6 separate regions of the Homo sapiens genome follow, and regions 2, 3, 4, 5 and 6 are each linked to region 1. The links are contacts of gene promoters, found by promoter capture Hi-C in blood cells and fetal thymus (Javierre and others, 2016). All regions are on one chromosome and are shown on one strand. Each heading gives the region's core, a stretch centred on a gene start or on the middle of the fragment in contact. The rest is flanking DNA. Distances are from core to core; before and after follow the strand shown. Region 1 holds the start of CACNB1 (calcium voltage-gated channel auxiliary subunit beta 1). Region 2 overlaps FBXO47 (F-box protein 47). Region 3 holds the start of FBXO47 (F-box protein 47). Region 4 has its middle 27 kb from the start of FBXO47. Region 5 holds the start of FBXL20 (F-box and leucine rich repeat protein 20). Region 6 has its middle 33 kb from the start of LINC02079.

Region 1 (3,015 bases), core at 282-2,781:
TGACCAGACTGGGGGCTTTGGCTGCTGGGATCAGGGTACAAGAAAGAGGATGGAAAATGGGAGAGGAGGGCCCCTGGGGACCTTTCCAAGATCCTCCCCTCCCCGCCCTTCTCTCAAACCAGACATATACCCCAACTCAAGTTGTGATGCTCCCTACAAACCTAGGAGGATCACCCAGTGAATCCCAGACACCACCCTCCCCCACCACTGCCAGGCTGGGCAAAGGGAGTGGCACTCAGAGGGACAGGGGACAGCTGAAAGGAAGGCCCCAGTCAGCTGCCTCCCAGGCTCAAAGGGGCCTGGGGTGGAGGAAGGTATTTTTAGGTCTGACTTGACCCCTCTACATACCCATCAGTCACATTATCATGGTGGTTACAGCTGGTGGCCACAGTAACAGAAGAGTTAATGCTATCCTTGGAGAAGGACACTCCCAAAGAAATCCCCTGGCGCGACCATCCCAGAGCCTGCTGGTCACCCCATGAGAACCCACCGCGCCCAAGAATGCCACTTCCTGGGAGTAACCAGGGGTGTAGGAAAAGTGTGCGGGTGGGGATGGAGAAGTAGACCCCTCCCCCAGGTAAAACAGCTTCCCCCCCTCCTATGAGTTGGCATCCATCCAACTTTCCAAACTTTGGAGGCGTTTTTGGGGCGGGGGTGGGGGTGGGGTAAGTCAACGTGGGTGTGGGGGGAGGGGAGCAGGTCCGACATAGAGATGGAGCCCAGGTGGCTGGGAGGGGACCTCGACCGGGGTTGGCTCTTTCCCCACCCTCGAGAACCAGTGTCTGCGGCTTTGAAGGCCTGTTGGCATTTGGCACCGCCCTCTGACCATCGCCTCGGCCACCTCCTCGTGCCACCCCCGCCCCACCCACACCCGCCTGGCGCCCCCGAGCGTGCTCTGCGTCGCCCCCCTTGCCTGGCTCGCTTTCTAGCCTCTTTCAACCTCCCCTTCTCAAGGCCCAGATCCCCCTCCACCAGCACCCCCACGCTCAGCCCACTGAAGCTGGTGCCCAAGCGGCAGGAACCTTGACGCGGGGGAGATAAGGAGGCGAGGGTGACAGGCAGCCCACCCGCCCCCTCCCCGCTCCGCAGCATCGCCACCCAGCCCCAGGCCCAGCGCCCATCAATCACAACCTGCAAGGATGGGGGGCGCGCAGGCATCCCTCTCTCCTCCGCGCCCGGCATATAACCCCTTCCTCTCCCGCGCCTCTCGAGCCGACCTTAACACGGTCCGCGGGAGCGACCCCCTCCCGTTGGGCCGGGCCACCACGCCTCACCTGCGGGCTGGGGTCGAAGACCTCCATGGGGATCTCCTGGGAGGGTGGGTAAGGGCCCCGGGACATGCTGGTCTTCTGGACCATGGAGAGGAGCCTCCCCTCCCGCCGCCGGCCCGGCCCAGCCGGGCTCCCTCAGCGCATGGGAGAGGCCGTGGGAGCCGAAAGCAGCGCGGCGCAGCCAGCACCCGGTCCAGCCACCCAGCTCGGCCTTCGGCTGCCTCCTTCCTGCCTTCCCTCGCTCCTCCCGCTCTCTCCACTGCCGCCGCCGCCTCCCCCGTAGGCTCAGCATCTCCCCGCGCCCCTCCCTCGCTCCCTCCCTCCGCCCGCCCGGCCCCGCCCCTCGCAGCCCCTCCGCCGGCTCGGCGCACACAATGGGCGTGCGGCAGCAGGGAGGCAAGCCCCTCTCGGCTCTAGGTGGCCGCAGGTGGGCCTCTGACTGGCCGTGGGGTGCAGGCGGCCCGCTGGGGCGGGAAGGCAGAAACTAGGCGTGGAACTTGGGGGAGGGGTGGGGGGGCGGTCTACCAGTGGATGCCGAGCGCTGATGGGGATTGGCATGGCTGGCACCACCCCCCTTTTGTCCCAAACCTCTCTTCCTGCGGGTCCCCCCAACCCACTCCTGTTTGGACCACCGGAACTTCCCGGTCCCGGTGATCCTGGGACCTGGCTTTAACTCCTTTCTCCCCAGTGTGGGGCCCAGGCTGCCTCAAACCAAACAGAAAAGCCTCTCCCTCCAACATGGCTCTGGGGCTGCCGGTGGGAGGCTGAGGCTGAGATGGGGAGGGTGTCCAATAGAGACAGCAAAATAAATCCCAGGGGTCCAGGAGTTCTGCCCTAATCAGTCACTAGGATACACCGCCCCCCCAACCCCTGTTCTTCCAAAAGGCCAGGAATGGGGCTGGGTGAGGTCCCTGCTCTTGGATGAGAAAAGAGGAAGAAATATGGAGCTGAGAGAGGAGAAGCTGGTAAAATCAGATCTCATGACCTTTGACCTAGAATTGCGCCACCTTTACCCCTGATTTAGGGAGAAACATCCAAGATCTGGATGCCACCCACCATGACTGGTGGAGAGAAGAGGAATAGGAGATTCTGGGCAATAGACTCTGGCGCCAATTTGGCTCAGGCTGTTTCTGGTTGTATAGCCCCGGACAAATCACCTCTCTGAGCATCAGTTTCCTCCTCTCCTATAAAATGGGGTTGCTGGTACTGTGGAGTCTGTGTCACCTGGTATTATTGGGAGGATGAGGGAGAATTAAATGAATTGCTGGGGTGTTTGGAGAAGCTGTAAGTTTCAATGAAGGGGTCACTCATGACAGGAGGACCCATTCCCTTCCTACTCCACCCCTTCTCCTGCTCCACAGAAAGGAGAGATGGAGAAGACCCTCTCCAGGTCAAGTGACCTTACAATAAGGCCACCACCTTGCTGTGTTCCGCAGGACAGGAGACTATGGGACTCCTCCTCCTCACCCAACTCTAATAGCAAGTGAATGGTCAGTCTGTCATTCCTCTGATCACAACACCTTGGGGAAGGCGGAGCAGTGAGTGAAGATGAAGCCCATTAGAAACGTTCCAGGAGAGTTCCAACCCTGAGCAGGGTTTCCACCTGCCCCTTGGAGACAAGAAAGGCTGGCATAACCGCAAAAGTATGGGCTTTGCAATCAGAAATATCTGTGTTCTGAATCTGTTACCTTAGCTGTAAAATGAGGGCAACGCTAATCGTGTTGTTGTGAGGAAGTAGCATAAA
Region 2 (3,015 bases), core at 198-2,697, 250 kb before region 1:
TATTAGAGGAAGAACAATTATTTAATGAGAAATCACACAACAGCTATAGTAAATACCATTAAGTACATGCAATATTTTATCTTTATTGGAAATACAATTAGTGCCAAGGGAAATGCTCAGAAAAAAATGCTCTAGTTTTCCAATTATGGCATTCAGTCAGAGACAGGTTATTGCCATGTCATGGAGGCTCTTACAAATGTACTAATAATATAAACAAAGCAATTCTCCTACACATAGGTCAGCAGGCAAAGTGTTCTAATCCTGTGCAAGGAAAGCATCCTTGTAAACTTTAGAATCTAAAGGATTATGCAGGAATAGGAATAATTGTTTCACCTTTCCTTTACTCACAGAAGAGGGCTTTTTACAGAACCTAGGAGGGTGTTTCTGAGAATTTACAACATGGGAGTAATTGAGCTAATTAAATGAAGAAGCTTTCAAATAATAATAATAATAAATGTTTATTTATAAAATTGGCAAGCAAAGGAAAGTAAGTTGATTATATGCATTCTCTTCAAACATAATGCCAAACTCTTTAAATATTTTAGAGCATTCAGTGATTTCCAACAGGCACATCATTTGTTACCTGTAGAATTATCCTTATAATTTTATAACTGCATTTTAACAATAAATTTCTATTATTCTATGTTAGTAAATATATTTTTTACCTGATAGTTCATCTACAAGACTGATAACATCATCTGCTGTCCACTCTTTAGTGCTAGCGTCATATAGTAACTTAATGGCATCAGCCAAACCTTTCAGACTGAATTCATCTGTAGGTTCTTCTATCATTTCCTGCCAAACCACCTGTCCTGAATTGAAACAAAAACGAGGCTATGACAGAATAGTTGGCTTTGTGATAAAGACTTGTTTAAAAAGGAAAGTGAATTGCACAATGGAATCCCATTACTTATACAAGCTACTTTCATTTTAACTTTTGAAACAAGAAGTCAATTCTGGTAATAGTATAGATTTGAACGTCTCTGGCCGGGCGTGGTGGCTCATGCCTGTAATCCCAGCACTTTAGGAGGCCGAGGTAGGAGGATCACTTGAGGTACGGAGTTCGAGACCAGCCTGTGAAACCCTGTCTCTACTAAAAATATAAAAATTAGCCAGGCATGGTGGTGCACGCCTGTAGTCCCAGCTACTCAGGAGGCTGAGGCACGAGAATCGCTTGAACCTGGGAGGCGGAGGTTGCAGTGAGTGGAGATTGGGCCACTGAACTCCAGCCTGGGCAACACAGCGAGACTCTGTCTCAAAAAAAACATGTGTGTGTGTGTGTGTGTGTGTGTGTGTGTGTGTGTGTGTGTATGCTTCTTGGCCAGGCACAGTAGCTCATGTATGTAATTCTAGCACTTGGGGAGGCCAAGGTGGGAGGATCACTTGAGCCCAAGAGGTTGAGAGCAACCTGGGTACCAAAGTGGGACCCTGCAGGAGATCGAGACCATCCTGGATAACACGGTGAAACCCCGTCTTTACTAAAAATACAAAAAACTGGCCAGGCGCGGTGGCTCACATCTGTAATCCCAGCACTTTGGAAGGCCGAGGTGGGAAGATCACAAGGTCAGGAGATCGAGACCATTCTGGCTAACACGGTGAAACCCCATCTCTACTAAAAATACAAAAAATTAGCCAGGCATGGTGGCAGGCGCCTGTAATCCCAGCTACTCGGGTGGCTGAGGCAGGAGAATGGTGTGAACCCGGGAATTGGAGCTCGCAGTGAGCCGAGATTGCGCCACTGCACTCCAGCCTGGGTGACAGAGCAGACTCCGTCTCAAAAAAAAAAAAAAAAAAAAATTAGCTGGTTGTGGTTGCACGCACCTGCAGTCCCAGCTACTTGGGAGGCTGAGGCAGGAGAATCGCTTGAACCCGGGAGGTGGAGGTTGCAGTGAGCCATGATCGCACCACTGTGTGCGTGCATGCATGTGTGTGTGTGTGTGTGTGTGTATAATATATGCTTCCTAAATATATATATGCTTCCTAAAGTAAAAATAATGAACCAGTTATGTTACAACCCTGAAAGATGGGTGCTCACCATCTTGAGGAGATATTGGCCCAAAGATGATATACAGTAATCTTGCCTGATTCACCATTGGCCATGGTTTTAATATTCGCGTCAACCAAAAAGCAGAATCACTTCGATGTGTCCAATGATCAAGGAGGACATTCCTACAGAAGAGTCTGATTCTTAACTCCAGTTTTTGGGCACTTCCTATGAAGACAAAAGAATTGTAAATCATTCTTCGTAGAAAGGCTGCTGTGCATATTGAATAGTGATCAAAGCAACTTATTAATCATTATGGTTAGTGATAGTAAACTAGGTTTCTAAACAGGAAGTAACCAAGAGATTATCTATTCTTAAACTCCCCTAACTTCATAATTTGTCTATCTACTTACTTACTTTTACCTTCCTGATTTATAGTCAATATTTTGAATAATGGGTCAATCAATCAAAAGACATGCTTAAGCTTACCAGACTCTTGTACAATTTTGGATTTAAAAAGAAATAAATGCAGAGAAAGGTCAAAGACATATATCATTAATATACTTTGTACTGAAAGTGTCACTTCATTTTCCTCTATGAAAGTTTTATGGCAGGTGTGGTGACTCTTGCCTGTAATGCCAGCACGTTGTGAAGCCGAGGTGGGAGGATCACTTGAGGTCAGGAGTTCAAGACCAGCCTGGCCAATATGGCGAAACCCTGTCTCTACTAAAAATACAAAAAAAATTGGCCGGGTGCCGTGGCTCACACCTGTAATCCCAGCACTTTGGGAGGCTGAGGCGGGCAGATCACGAGGTCAGGAGATCGAGACCAACCTGGCTAACACGGTGAAACCCTGTCTCTACTAAATATACAAAAAATAAGCCGGGAGTGATGGCGGGCGCCTGTAGTCCCAGCTACTTGGGAGACTGAGGCAGGAGAATGGCGTTAACCCGGGAGGTGGAGCTTGTAGTGAGCCAAGATCGTGCCACTGCACTCCAGCCTGGGTGACAGAGCGAGACTCTGGCTCAAAA
Region 3 (3,015 bases), core at 200-2,699, 230 kb before region 1:
GTTCACTTATAAACACTTTGGTTTATATAATTTCAGACTTTTACATACATATATTTCTTTTTAACAAAAAAGAGGGATCACTATATATAATACTTTGTAATCTGCTTTTTTCAATGAATTCTCTTTCCATGCTAATAACCTTCTACAAGTAATCATATTTTAATGGCTATGTGTCATTCCACCAAGTAAAATAATCTTAATTTGTTTAATCCATAAGGCTGTTTGTAACCTTAACTTTTCACAGTAGGCGTTTTGTTTGTTTGTTTGCGATGGAGTTTCGCACAGTCTCCTGGGCTGGAGTGCAGTGGCGCGATCTCGGCTCACTGCAAGCTCCGCCTCCCGGGTTCAAGCGATTCTCCTGCCTCAGCCTCCCTAGTAGCTGGGATTACAGGTGCCCGCCCCCACGCCCAGCTAATTTCTGTATTTTTAGTAGAGACGGGGTTTCACCGTGTTAGCCAGCCTGGTCTCGATTTCCTGACCTCGTGATCCGCCTGCCCCGGCCTCCCAAAGTGCTGGGATTTACAGGCGTGAGCCACCGCACCCGGCCAACACAGTAGGTGTTTTAAAGCATTTTTATTACAATAGCATAAATCCGGCCTTGGCTTCTTCCTGTTTCTCTGAGAAATGTGGACAGTGGGGCTTGGGCCCGTGGGCTCTTCAAAGACTGTCAGTCACCAGGCGGGGACTTCACTGTGTCAACTGTGAACTACATACATGTTTAAAATAAATATAAACAAAAATTTAAAAATGATAAGCCCAAATTCTTCTAAAACTCAAGTCTCCACTTATAGTTCCTTATTTTCCTCACTCAGAGCTGGACGTTTCGTAGGGAAAAAGCAAGCTTTTGTGAAAATTCTAAAGGTATAATCCTAAATTATTTCTGGTTTCCGCTCACCCCTCTAGCGAATAAGAATCACAGCCCCAAATAATAATAATAAAATGATGTTTCATGCCCCCTGTTCTATCCCACTAATTTTGACCGCGCGTGAAAGGTTTTGAGGGTTCAATTGGATGAACCTCCCCGCCCCCCACACCTTTAAGATAAAAACTACATTCACAGGGATGTCTGTTTTAACATAAAACTCTTGTAAGGGCCCCACCCCATCTGTCGGGCAGCTGCCCCCAAACATCTCCAAAGCCGCAAACTAGGGAAGCCTAAAGGACAAACTGGTCAACAGGAGAATCAGACCACACGGGGTACATGTTTCGCTCCCTTCAGTCCATGAAAGATGAAATTATCGCAATAAAATACTGGGAAAAAAAACCCTCTTTTACCACAGATTTTGACAGTTTTTCCGGCTACAGAGTCACAGGAAAGTGGGAGTTAGTCGTTTTGCCCCACCATCCTCAAATTTCTTAGTGTTTAGAAAAGAAAATATCTCCTCAAGAGCTTCCCGCCAGGAGGCGAGAGGGTCACACTCCCGTAGGCTCCGGAGCTGCAGCCCTACCCACCAGGCGTCCCCGCGGCCTCTAGAATATTGTAGAATCTTCCCAAGAGCCCCCGCGGGAAGGAGGCCCGCCCCCTCATGAATAGCAAGCAGCCTCAGCTCTCGTAGTGCCCGCCTCCCTCATGAATATTGTAGATCTTCCCAGAAGCCCTAGCGGGAAGGAGGTTCCCCCCCGCCTCCCGCCTCCCCGCTTTATGAATAGCAAGAGAGCCAGCTCCCATGGTGCCCTCCGTCTCATGAATAACTAACAAGGGCGAGGTTCCTGGAGCCCAAACTCAGGCCTCAGCCACCCTTCGCTCCAAGCTGAAGACAAGAAGGGGCTGGAGCCGTTACGGTGTGGGGAAGGGGAGGGTGTAGCCCAAGATCCTGAACGTGGCGAGCCACGTCTCTGCTCCACTGCCTTTCCCTTCACCTAGTTTTGAGACAATTTTTGAGTTCCTCCCACCCCCACTGACTCCAGTAGGGCAAGTTACAAGGGGTTTCATCAAACCTTTTGGTGGAAAAAAACCTCCAGACATTCCTTTTTAAATTTGTCTTGCCGGTGCGGTGGCTCACGCCTGTAATCCCAACACTTTGGGAGGCCGAGGCGGGAGGCTCCCTTGAGTCCAGGAGTTTGAGACCAGCCTGGGCAACATAGGGAGACCCCCACCCCCAGCCATAACCCCGCTCCCGGTCTCTAAATAAACACATAAATAATAAATCTGTCTGGAATCAAAGGAAGATGTGTGTCTCCATCCTCTCAAGATGAAATCAAGACAAATCTTTCTAGCTAGGCCTTCCTGGCTAGAAGATTAAATTCTCATTCATTCATTTCTTCATTCATTCTGTAACTATTTATTGAAGCCTGCTCTGGGCCGGGCACAGGAGTAGGCCCTAAGGATGGAATAGAGAACAAGACAGATACGTTTCCTGCTTTAATGGAGTTTATTAGCCTAATGGGGAAGATAGAATGAACAGACAGAGCATCTACAGATGTTGAGAGCAGTTCCGGTGAGAGCAGCGTGACAGAGGAAATAAGACAGAATGATGGGGTGTGTGTGTGTTGGCGGAGAGCTACTTTAGATAGACTGATACTCAAGGTCCCTTTGATATGACGATTTGAGAACTGATGGAGGAGAAGGAGCCAGTCAGGAGAAGGGCTGAGGGAAGAGGGAATGGGGGAAAGATTCTACTTTTGTAGATCAATTCTACATTATACCCAACACAAAATATATAAGGAACTACATAAAGACTGAGTGGAAATTTAGGATTAGTTGGCATGCTGTTATTTTATATAGTCACATATATTCATCCATTTGGCTTTGTATCTTTTTTTTTCCTGACCTCAGGTGACCTGCGTACCTCAGCACTGCAAAGTGCTGGGATTACAGGTGTGAGCCACCACTCCTGGCCTTTTTTTTTTTTTTTTTTTTTTTTGAGACAGAGTCTTGCTCAGTCGCCCAGGCTGGAGTTCAGTGGCACGATCTCGGCTCACTGCAGCCTCTGCCTCCTGGGTTGAATTGATTATCTTGCTTCAGCCACCCAGTAGCTGGGACCACAGGTGGGCACCACCATTGTATTTTTAGCA
Region 4 (3,015 bases), core at 384-2,883, 200 kb before region 1:
GGATTACAGGTGCCCGCCACCACACCCGGCTAATTTTTGTATTTTTAGTAGAGATGGGGTTTCACCATGTTGGCCAGGCTGGTCCCAAACTCCTGACCTCAGGTGATCCGCCCACTCGGCCTCCCAAAGTGCTGAGATTACAGGCGTGTGCCACCGCGCCTGTCCCATAGTTGTAAATTGTATCTCATTATTATTATTATTATTTAGAGTTGCTGTCACCGATGTTGGAGTGCAGTGTTACTTTCATAACTCACTGTAACCTTGAACTCCTGGGCTCAAGTGATCCTTCTGCCTCAGCCTCCTGAGGAGCTGGGACTACAGATGCACACTGCCATGGCTGCCTAATTCTTTTTGGTAGAGACAGTGGTCTCCCTACATTACCCAAGCTGGTCTCCAACTCCTGGCCTCAAGCAATCCTCCCACCTCAGCCTCCCAAAATGTTGGGATTACAGGCATGAGCCACTGTACCTGGCCAATGATTTTTAATTTATATTTCTCTGATTACTACTTAGGTTGGGCATCTTTTTTGTATGTTTGGTTTGTTAGTCTTTGGATTTCCTTTTTTCTGAAGGATATACCCATGTCTTCCCATTTTCCCATTGTGTTGTCTTTTTATTGATTGTGCTTCTTTCTGTATCCTAGATAATTTTTAGTCTCTTAATGGTATCTTTTCATGAACAGATGTTCTTTAGTATGAACGTAGTAGAATGTCTCAATCTTGGCACTATTGACATTTTGGGCTGGAAAATTCCTTGTTTTTTTTGTGTGTGTGACTCTGTGTGTGTGTGTGTGTGTGTGTGCGCGTGTGTGTGTGTTGGGGGCTGTCCTGTATATTGTAGGAGGTTTACCAGCATCCCTGGCCTCTGTCCATTAGATACCAATAGCACCCTTCTGCCCAAATTATGATAACCAAAAATGTCTCCAGACATTGCCGAAAGTGCCCTGGAGAGCAACATTGCCTTTCTGCCTCCTGTTTAAGAAATCCTCCACTATTCTGGTGGGGCGTGGTGGCTCACACCTGTAATCCCTGCACGTTGGCAGACTGAGGTGGGCAGATCACTGGAGGTCAGGAGTTCAAGACCAGCCTGGCCAAGGTGAAACCCCGTCTCTACTAAAAATACAAAAATTAGCCGGGCATGGTGGCACATAGCTGTAATCCCAACTACTCAGGAGGCTGAGGTAGGAGAATCGCTTGAACCTGGGAGGTGGAGGATGCAGTGAGCCGAGATTGCATCACTACGCTCCACACTCTAGCCTGGGCGACAAAGCAAGACGATGTCTAAAAAAAAAAAAAGAAAGAAAAGAAAGAAAGAAAAAGAAATCCTCCACTATTCTGAGGTCATGAAAATATTCTCTTTTATTATCTTCTAAAAGCTTTATGTTATTTTTCACTTTTCATATTTGGATTCCTGATTCACCTGGAACTGAATTTTGTATGTGGTGAAAAGTAGAGTTCGTTTTGTTTTTTTCTGTATAGATCCTCAATGTCCTAGTGCTATTTATTGCACTTATCTAACCACAAGCCCCCCTCTGTTATATGTCAAGTGGCATGGAGGCAGGTGTGTATTTCTGGGCTTTCTATTGTTTTCAGTGCTCTACTTTTCTGACCTTGCTCCAATATCACACTTCCGTAATCATTGTTGACTGTTAAAGAGGCTAGATCTGGAAAGGAAGTCCTTTTATTTTGTCTTGGCTATTCCTGGTCTTTTGTACTTTCATTTACATTTTAGAATAAGTTTGTCAAATTCTTCACAAAATCTGTTGGGATTTTGACTGAGATTGCATTGAATCTGTAGATCAATTTAAGGAGAACTGACATTTTTATAAATGTGTATCTTGCATTGCATGAACACAGTGCTCTATTTATTTTAGTATTCTTTAAATCTTTTAATAAAGCTTTATTATTTTTTCCTTAGAGAGCTCTGGCACATCTTTTGTTTGATTTATTACTCTGTACTTCATATATTTGATCCTATTATAAAGTATCTCTCTCTCTTTTTTTTTTTTTCGAGACGGAGTCTCACTCTTGTCGTCCAGGCTGGAGTGCAATGGTGCGATCTTGGCTCACTGCAACCGCTGCCTGCCAGATTCAAGCGATTCTCCTGCCTCAGCCTCCCGGGCAGCTGGGATTACAGGCGTGTGCCACCACGCCTGGCTAATTTTTGTATTTTTTAGTAGAGACGGGGTTTCAACATGTTGTCCAGGCTGGTCTCGAACTCCTGACTTCAGGTGATCCACCTGCCTCGGCCTCCCAAAGTGCTAAGATTACAGGCGTGAGCCACTACACCCGGCTACTTTACTTTTTAAACTTTTTTTTTAGATTCAGTGTCTCACTGTGTTGACCAGGCTGGTCTTGAACTCCTGGCCTCAAGCAATCCTCCCACCTCAGCCTCCCAAAATGCTAGTATTATAGGCATGAGCCAATGCACCCAGCTATAACTTTTCATTACAAAAAATTGTCAGTGTATATGAAAGGTGAAAGAACAGTACAATCAGCACACAAATACCTAGTTACAACAATTGTTAACATTTTATCATTTTTGCTTTGTCTATTTACCTTTACTTTTTTTTTTTTAATTTTAGAGACAAAGACTCACTCTGTTGCCCAGGCTGGAGTACAGTGGTGAAATCATAACTCACGGCAGCCTCAAACTCCTGGGTTCAAGGAGTGATCCTCCCACCTCAGCCTCCGGAGTAGCTGGGACTACAGGTGCATGACACTGTGCCTAGCTAATTTTAAAATATTTTGTAGAGACAGGGTTTCACTATTATCCAGGCTGGCTTCAAACTCCTGGCCTGAAGCAATCACTCCCATCTCAGCCTTTCAAAAGGCTGAGGCAACTGATGTCAGCCACCATGCCTGGCATCTGCCTGTTTATCTGTCAATCAATCATCTATCTTTTATATATACACACATACATATATACATTATATATCTATATGGAGATGGAGTCTTGCCTTGTCACCCAGGTTGGAGTGCAATGGCATGATCTCGGCTCACTGCAACCTCCGCCT
Region 5 (3,015 bases), core at 133-2,632, 200 kb after region 1:
TCGTGGATCAATTCAAATTATTTCCCAGTTCGCATAATAAGAAATCAAAGAATAGATTAAACTGACAACCCTTAAAAGTTTTCACACCCTGAACCTAGTTGTCGAGTTTCTTAAACTTTTGTCTCGCCGTCTTACAATTTCATCTCTCAAATGGAGATGAAGAAAAACACCGAGTGAGATTGTCCACTGAGCTGTGAGTGATCCCAGGTCAGCCTGGTTCTCTGCCAGAAAAGACCAGGTGACATTTACTCTTCCTGTAGAAGTTTCTTTCTCTTGACCCTCAAGGAACCTTCCAGTATATTGTTATACTACTGTAATTCATCAGTAGTTACAATATTTCACTTCCCAAAGGAATCTCTTCCTTGCAAGATGACTACTCTCTAAAGACGCTTTCAAGACCGTCCACTCCTCAATTCCAGGACAGTAAACCTCCCTCGCTAGAGGAGAAAAAGTTCCTGAAAGACAGACCGGAATGGATTTGCTGAACTTTCGTCCCAATCTCAAAGCATGTAGACATCCAAGGGTTCCCAAGGAACAATGAGCTACAGAAGTACAGACTAAACGGGAAAGCAGAGGAAGTATCAGAACAATACCCAAACCAAACACAGCACCGAAAACCCGTGGTAGCCTCTATCATCCCAAACTACCGTCCCCACTTCCCTAGTTTCACCAAGGTCTCAAACTCGGAGAAATGGTACCCATCCCCTAATTTCCTCCCTCAACAGACAACAAACGCGTCATGAAGGTAGCAGCGAGAAAAGCAGCAGGCTCTGGTGGACCGGAGCCGTGATGGCTGGGTGGAAGGAGGCAAGCCAAGGGTTGTGTAAAGAATGGAAAGCTGAGCGATCCTGGAGGAGGGTGGAATTAGGGCGCCCGAGCTAATCCCCCGCGGGGGCCCGCTGGTGGGAAGAGACGGGGGGCGAACCGGCGAGGGGACTGGGGGCACCGGGCTGCGCTGGGCTTCTGGGTCGCAAGAAAGGGGAGCGGAGTCTGGCAGCCCCGCCAGTGGGTGGGTGACGGCGCCTGCCAGGGAGGAGGCTCCGTGCGGAGCGGACGTTTTGGGATTAGAGCGCGCGACCCGCCCTCCTCACGCCGCCCGAGCCCCCCAAGCTCACACCTCAAACCTGCTCTTGGTCACTCCGTTCACGTCCCTCCTCATGGGGCCGGCGGGTGCGGCCCGGGCCGGGCGCTGCGGCGAGCGGAGTGCACAGACCGGGGGCCCAGGACAGGCCCGGGAGTTCCGGGACGGGGACTGGGCGCCGGAGGGGTGACGCCGGGACCGTGGGACGGGAACAAGAGACCTCTCGGCTCCGGCTAGGCCTCCACCACCTCCCGCGGCGCCGGCGGCCGCAACGACTGCTCGTCGCTAGCTCGGCTCTCTCCTCAGCCTCAACTTCAACCCAAAACAAAAACACTCCCCACCTGCCAGCAACGCCGCTGCTCATTGGACAGAGCCGCCCGGGCCTCGGAGCGCCCGGGAGGGGGAGGGGCGGGAGGGGAGGAGCGCGGCGGCGGCGGCGCGAGACCACCCCTCCCCCACACGGGGCCGGCCCTGACGGCGCTCCCGGGAGCAGCCGGTGCGCGGCGGCGGCACGACCCCCTGCGCCTCCGAGGCAGACGAGCCCATCGGGAGAAGGCGAGGCAGGGAAGTGCCTGTGCGTGTGGAAAAGGGGGTCTGTGGGGCGGATGCGAGTGCGCGCGTGCTCGCGGACCAGCGAGGGAGAGTAGAGCAGTACCGCACTCTGCGCGGGGGCCCCTCTTCTGCCCCGTGTCCCCCTCTCCTCCCTCCGCGGGCAAACAGGCACGCACCTGCCTGCACAGAACCTCAGCCTCTGCCCGCGCCCGTCGCCCCTCGTCACTTGTTCCCCAGGATCCTGTAAGGCACCCGCATCCTTCCCGGCCACCCAGCTCCCTTCCCCTGTCACTCACTGTCGCCTTGAACCCAAAGTGCAGCAGGCGGTCCCTGCTCGGAGCCATTTTCCTCCTCTTCTGGATGTGTCTAGATTGGGGCAGTGCGGCTGCCGCCGCGCCTCCGCGGTTGCCGCCGCCGCCGCCTCCCCCGCCTCCCCCGCCCCAGTGCATTACATTACGGGGTGCTGCAGGGAGGCCTGGGGGGCCGGGGCCGGACGCTTGTCTCCCTGTGCATGGCTCGGGAGGGCGAGGGTGGTTGCGCTGAGCAACAGGCCAAGTGCCCGCCCTGGTCCGGGGATGGCTGCGGAGCTGCACCTGAGGCCGGGGGTCGGGGGTGCAGGGCTGGAGCCGGGCAACCCTTCCTTTGGCCGGGGTCGGGGCGCGCGTCCGTGGGGGTGGGGCGGGCGAGACCGAAGAGCCTTTGGTTTTCCTTGCTCGGCCGCCGCCGGCGCCCAATGGGCTGCAGCGCCTGCCTGTCCGCCAATCAGGGCGCTGTTTGGTGAGAGCTTCGGCCTGACGTCACTTTGGCGGGAGAAACAAGCGTGTGTGAGCGAGTAGGCGGGGGCGTTTTCCCGATGGAAACACTTCATCAGACTCCCGGGCTCCTTGTATAGAAGCTGATCTGTGTCATCATATTATATTATGTTTTAACAACTCTGGCCTTCAAGGTCTCAGAATTTATGACCGAATTTCCACGAAGGAATAACACAGGATTTTGTAGTTTTGTTGCCCCTTCTATGAGCAACAAACTACAAAATTATGTCCTAAGAGTGAACTATTAGAAACTGTATAATAAATTCCAGCACACCTGGCAGGAGCAGCAGCACTGCTAATTGTATGCTTCCAAAGCAGTTATGAGTTGGTCTTCCTCACACCCCTTTTAATTAGTGGTTTTAGCGACTGACTTGTTATGCGTCTAAGAAATTAACAAGAGCAACAAGTGCGGCAGATCTTTAAGAACAGGTATATTTTAGCTGGAGGACATATTACCCAACTCTTAAAGCACTGTACAAACTTTTTCTTTTTTTTTTTTTTTTTTTTTTTGAGACAGAGGTTCAACTCTGTCGCTTAGGCTGGAGTGCAGTGGCACGATCTCGGTTTACT
Region 6 (3,015 bases), core at 308-2,807, 140 kb before region 1:
AAGGTTCCTGACAAGAATTATGGAAGCTTAAGGTTGAACTCAAACCTACTGATGCTAAACCCCATGTCATTTTATGCTGTCCCTTTTTAAGAAATCTCAGCTTGGGCAACATAGTGAGACCCCATCTCTACAGAAAAAATTTAAAGATCAGGCTGGGCACGGTGGCTCATGCCTGTAATCCCAGCAGTTTGGGAGACTGAGTCGGACGGGTCACTTGAGACCAGGAGTTCGAGAGCAGCCTTGGCAATATGGCAAAACTCTATCTGTACTAAAAATACAAAAACATACAGTTCCCTATTGCGCTGTGCCTCAGTGGCCTCCTGTGTAGGGTAGAGGTAGCAACAGCACCCACCCCATAGATGACGATACAAGTAAATCTCCTAAAATGTGCTTGGAACATAGGAAACACCCAGTAAATGTGAGCTGCCGGCAGCACCACCAGCAGTACCATCCCAGAGTCCAAAAGTCAGTAGACCAGGACCTTTGGTTTTAAGTAATGTTTACCTCTGCCTAATTTTGTTAGTTGTGGCTCCTTCTTCACGGCTAAAGAGGGCTAAGTGCTTGTCTACAGAGGCAGAGGGAAGAGTGAGCACAGCTGGGAGGATTCTGCTCAGTCTGTAATGGGCCTGGGGGAGAAGAGCCCCAGGGAACAGAGAGGGGTGTCAGCAGCTGTAGAGAGGGGATGCTCCATCCGGGCGTGGTGGCTCACACCTATAATCCCAACACTTTGGGAGGCTGAGATGGGAGGATTGCTTGAGCCCAGGAGTTCAAGATCAGCCTAGGCAGAAAAACAAGACCCCATCTCTACAAAAAATAAAATAATTAGCCAGGCATGATGGTTCCCACCTGTAGTCCCAGCTACTTGGAAGGCGGAGGTGGGAGGATCACTTTAGCCCAGGAATTCAAGGCTGCAGTGAGCCATGATTGCATCGCTGAACTGAATCCTGGACAACAGACTGAGACCCTGTCTCTAAAAAAAAAAGAAAGAAAAAAAAAGAGAGAGAAAAGGGAGGCTCTGAGAACGGGAAGGTAGGCCCTACAGGAGGCTGCCCTTTTGGCCTTGAGGAGGGGCTCTTGGAATTGCTTAATGTTCCTTAGGAGAGCAGAGTCAGTGCACAGGTTTGCTGAGAGCAGCATCTTCATCTCTTAATTAAAAATGGGATCTAAGGCCGGGCACAATGGCTCATGCCTGTAATCCCAGCACTTTGGGAGGCTGAGGTGGTCGTATCACTTGAGGCCAGGAGTTCAAGACCAGCCTGGCCAACCTGGAGAAACCCTGTCTCTACTACAAATACAAAAATTGACTGGGTGCAGTGGCTCATGCCTGTAATCCCAGCACTTTGGAAGGCCAAGTAGGGCGGATCACCTGAGGTCGGGAGTTCGAGACCAGCCTGACCAACGTGGAGAAACCCCATCTCTACTAAAAATACAAAATTAGCTGGGCGTGGTGGTGCATGTCTATAATCCCCGCTACTCGGGATGGTGAGGCAGGAGAATCGCTTGAACCCGGGAGGTGGAGGTTGCAGTGAGCCGAGGTCACGCCACTGCACTCCAGCCTGAGCAACAAGAGCGAAACTCCATCTCAAACACACACACACACACACACACAAATACACACAAATTAGCCGTGCATGGTGGCACACACCTGTGGTCCCAGCTACTCAGGAGGCTGAGGCAGGAGAATCGCTTGAACCCAGGAGGCAAAGGCTGCAGTGAGCCGAGATCATGCTACGGCACTCCAGTCTGGGCAACAGAGCAAGACCCTGTCTCAAAACACAAAGAAACAAAACCACACAAACTTTGAGGGGGAGAGACTGAAAAAGGGGAAAGACAAGCTGGAAGGGAAGGTTCTAACCCAAGACTCTGGGAAGGTATGATGAAATTTTATTGGCCCATATTCAGGTGATTTTTTTTTCAGTGCTTTTAGCTTTGTGGAAAACTGTAGGCATAATTTAGCTATCTCTAGGGACCAAATGTAAAAATGTTTTATGAACATCAGAAAAATCATTCCCCACAAAATTTCTCTCTGGATTTCACAGTTGAAGTAAAGATTCTACCCCTCTTCCTTCCTCCCTGCACCTCTGGCCCCATCTTGGCGAAGGAAGTAATCCATTGTCCTCCATCCAAGAAGATAAATTAGATGGAGGCATCGCCTGGTGCTCTGTAAGGCTTGTGAGGAGTACTTCTAATTCTTCATGTGGGAGGGTCGCTAGTGTGAGCAGCGGGATGAGAAGGAGGCAGCAACAACTAGGACATTCTCAAGCTCCTGGGACTGTGCAAATAAATAGATGGTAAGCTCACAGTTTCGTGAGCCAAGAGCGAGGATCTGAAGTCATCACTAGGCATCTCTTCGAGGATCTCTACAGGCCTGGAGCAGTCTGTCTGTCATAATCCATAATCTGCTTCTATATTAAACTGTGGCCATGTGGTTCTGGCAACACCCTGAGGTACACAGAGAACAACCTCAGATGGGAATCCAAAAATCTGCACTTGGGGTTTTTCTCTACTTACTAGCTGTGTGACCTTGTGCAAGTCACTTAATGGTGCCTGGCACACAGGCGTTTAATGAATGTGGATCAAGTGAATAAATAAGTAAGCCACCTCCCTGAGCCTCAGTTTCCTCATCTGGGAAAGGAAAAACAGTGCTTCTCCAACAGGCTGCGATCATGTAGGTAGAATTGCTTCCTAAATGGTGCATCTCAAACTTTCATGCCCTTCACAGGAGTCACCTAAGGAGCTGCTCAAATGCAGATTCGGACTCAGTAGTTCTGGGGTTGGGGGGCCTGAGTGCTGCATTTCCAGCTAACCCCAGGGAATGCTAATGCTGCCTGGCTGGACCACACTTTATTATTTTATTTATTTATTTATTTATTTTTGTAGAGACAAGGTCTCGCTGTGTTGCTCATGCTGGTTTTGAACTCCTGGCCTCAAGCCATCCTCCCATCTTGGCCTCCCAGAGAGCAGGATTACAGGTATGAGCCACTGTACCTGGCCTGGACCACACTTTATTATACA

The links. The method cuts DNA at HindIII sites, captures the fragments that hold promoters and counts their contacts. A CHiCAGO score of 5 or more calls a contact.
Region 2: a contact is called between a fragment that was not itself captured here and the fragment with the promoter of CACNB1 in region 1, in 1 of 17 cell types (monocytes). The highest score is 5.7, in monocytes.
Region 3: the fragment with the promoter of FBXO47 here is called in contact with the fragment with the promoter of CACNB1 in region 1 in 6 of 17 cell types (total CD8 T cells, naive CD8 T cells, activated CD4 T cells and 3 more); the score reaches 6.8 in total CD8 T cells.
Region 4: a contact is called between a fragment that was not itself captured here and the fragment with the promoter of CACNB1 in region 1, in 14 of 17 cell types (total CD8 T cells, naive CD4 T cells, monocytes and 11 more). The highest score is 9.4, in total CD8 T cells.
Region 5: a contact is called between the fragment with the promoter of FBXL20 here and the fragment with the promoter of CACNB1 in region 1, in 4 of 17 cell types (megakaryocytes, naive CD4 T cells, monocytes and 1 more). The highest score is 7.9, in megakaryocytes.
Region 6: a fragment that was not itself captured here is called in contact with the fragment with the promoter of CACNB1 in region 1 in 1 of 17 cell types (non-activated CD4 T cells); the score reaches 5.3 in non-activated CD4 T cells.

Annotation. Positions count from the first base shown.
Region 1 is chr17:39,196,138-39,199,152 of GRCh38, forward strand. It overlaps CACNB1 (calcium voltage-gated channel auxiliary subunit beta 1), which reads right to left and starts at 1,532. Exons shown (of 14, transcript NM_000723.5): 1 at 1,275-1,532. The coding sequence starts at 1,358. RefSeq lists silencers at 730-859, 1,290-1,689, 1,700-1,829. The HindIII fragment of the contact is 8,246 bases long and covers 1-3,015 here.
Region 2 is chr17:38,942,925-38,945,939 of GRCh38, forward strand. It overlaps FBXO47 (F-box protein 47), which reads right to left. Exons shown (of 11, transcript NM_001008777.3): 7 at 2,036-2,212; 8 at 666-812. Among named protein-coding and RNA genes, the nearest start is that of LASP1NB, 19 kb to the left of the region's middle. The HindIII fragment of the contact is 2,037 bases long and covers 430-2,466 here.
Region 3 is chr17:38,965,954-38,968,968 of GRCh38, forward strand. It overlaps FBXO47 (F-box protein 47), which reads right to left and starts at 1,450. Exons shown (of 11, transcript NM_001008777.3): 1 at 1,276-1,450. The HindIII fragment of the contact is 5,025 bases long and covers 840-3,015 here.
Region 4 is chr17:38,992,622-38,995,636 of GRCh38, forward strand. No RefSeq gene overlaps it. Among named protein-coding and RNA genes, the nearest start is that of FBXO47, 27 kb to the left of the region's middle. The HindIII fragment of the contact is 522 bases long and covers 1,373-1,894 here.
Region 5 is chr17:39,400,244-39,403,258 of GRCh38, forward strand. It overlaps FBXL20 (F-box and leucine rich repeat protein 20), which reads right to left and starts at 1,383. Exons shown (of 15, transcript NM_032875.3): 1 at 1,118-1,383. The coding sequence starts at 1,159. RefSeq lists silencers at 636-928, 993-1,422, 1,453-1,652, 1,683-1,762, 2,013-2,402 and 1 more. The HindIII fragment of the contact is 7,755 bases long and covers 1-3,015 here.
Region 6 is chr17:39,058,217-39,061,231 of GRCh38, forward strand. It overlaps the pseudogene RDM1P5. Among named protein-coding and RNA genes, the nearest start is that of LINC02079, 33 kb to the left of the region's middle. The HindIII fragment of the contact is 3,067 bases long and covers 25-3,015 here.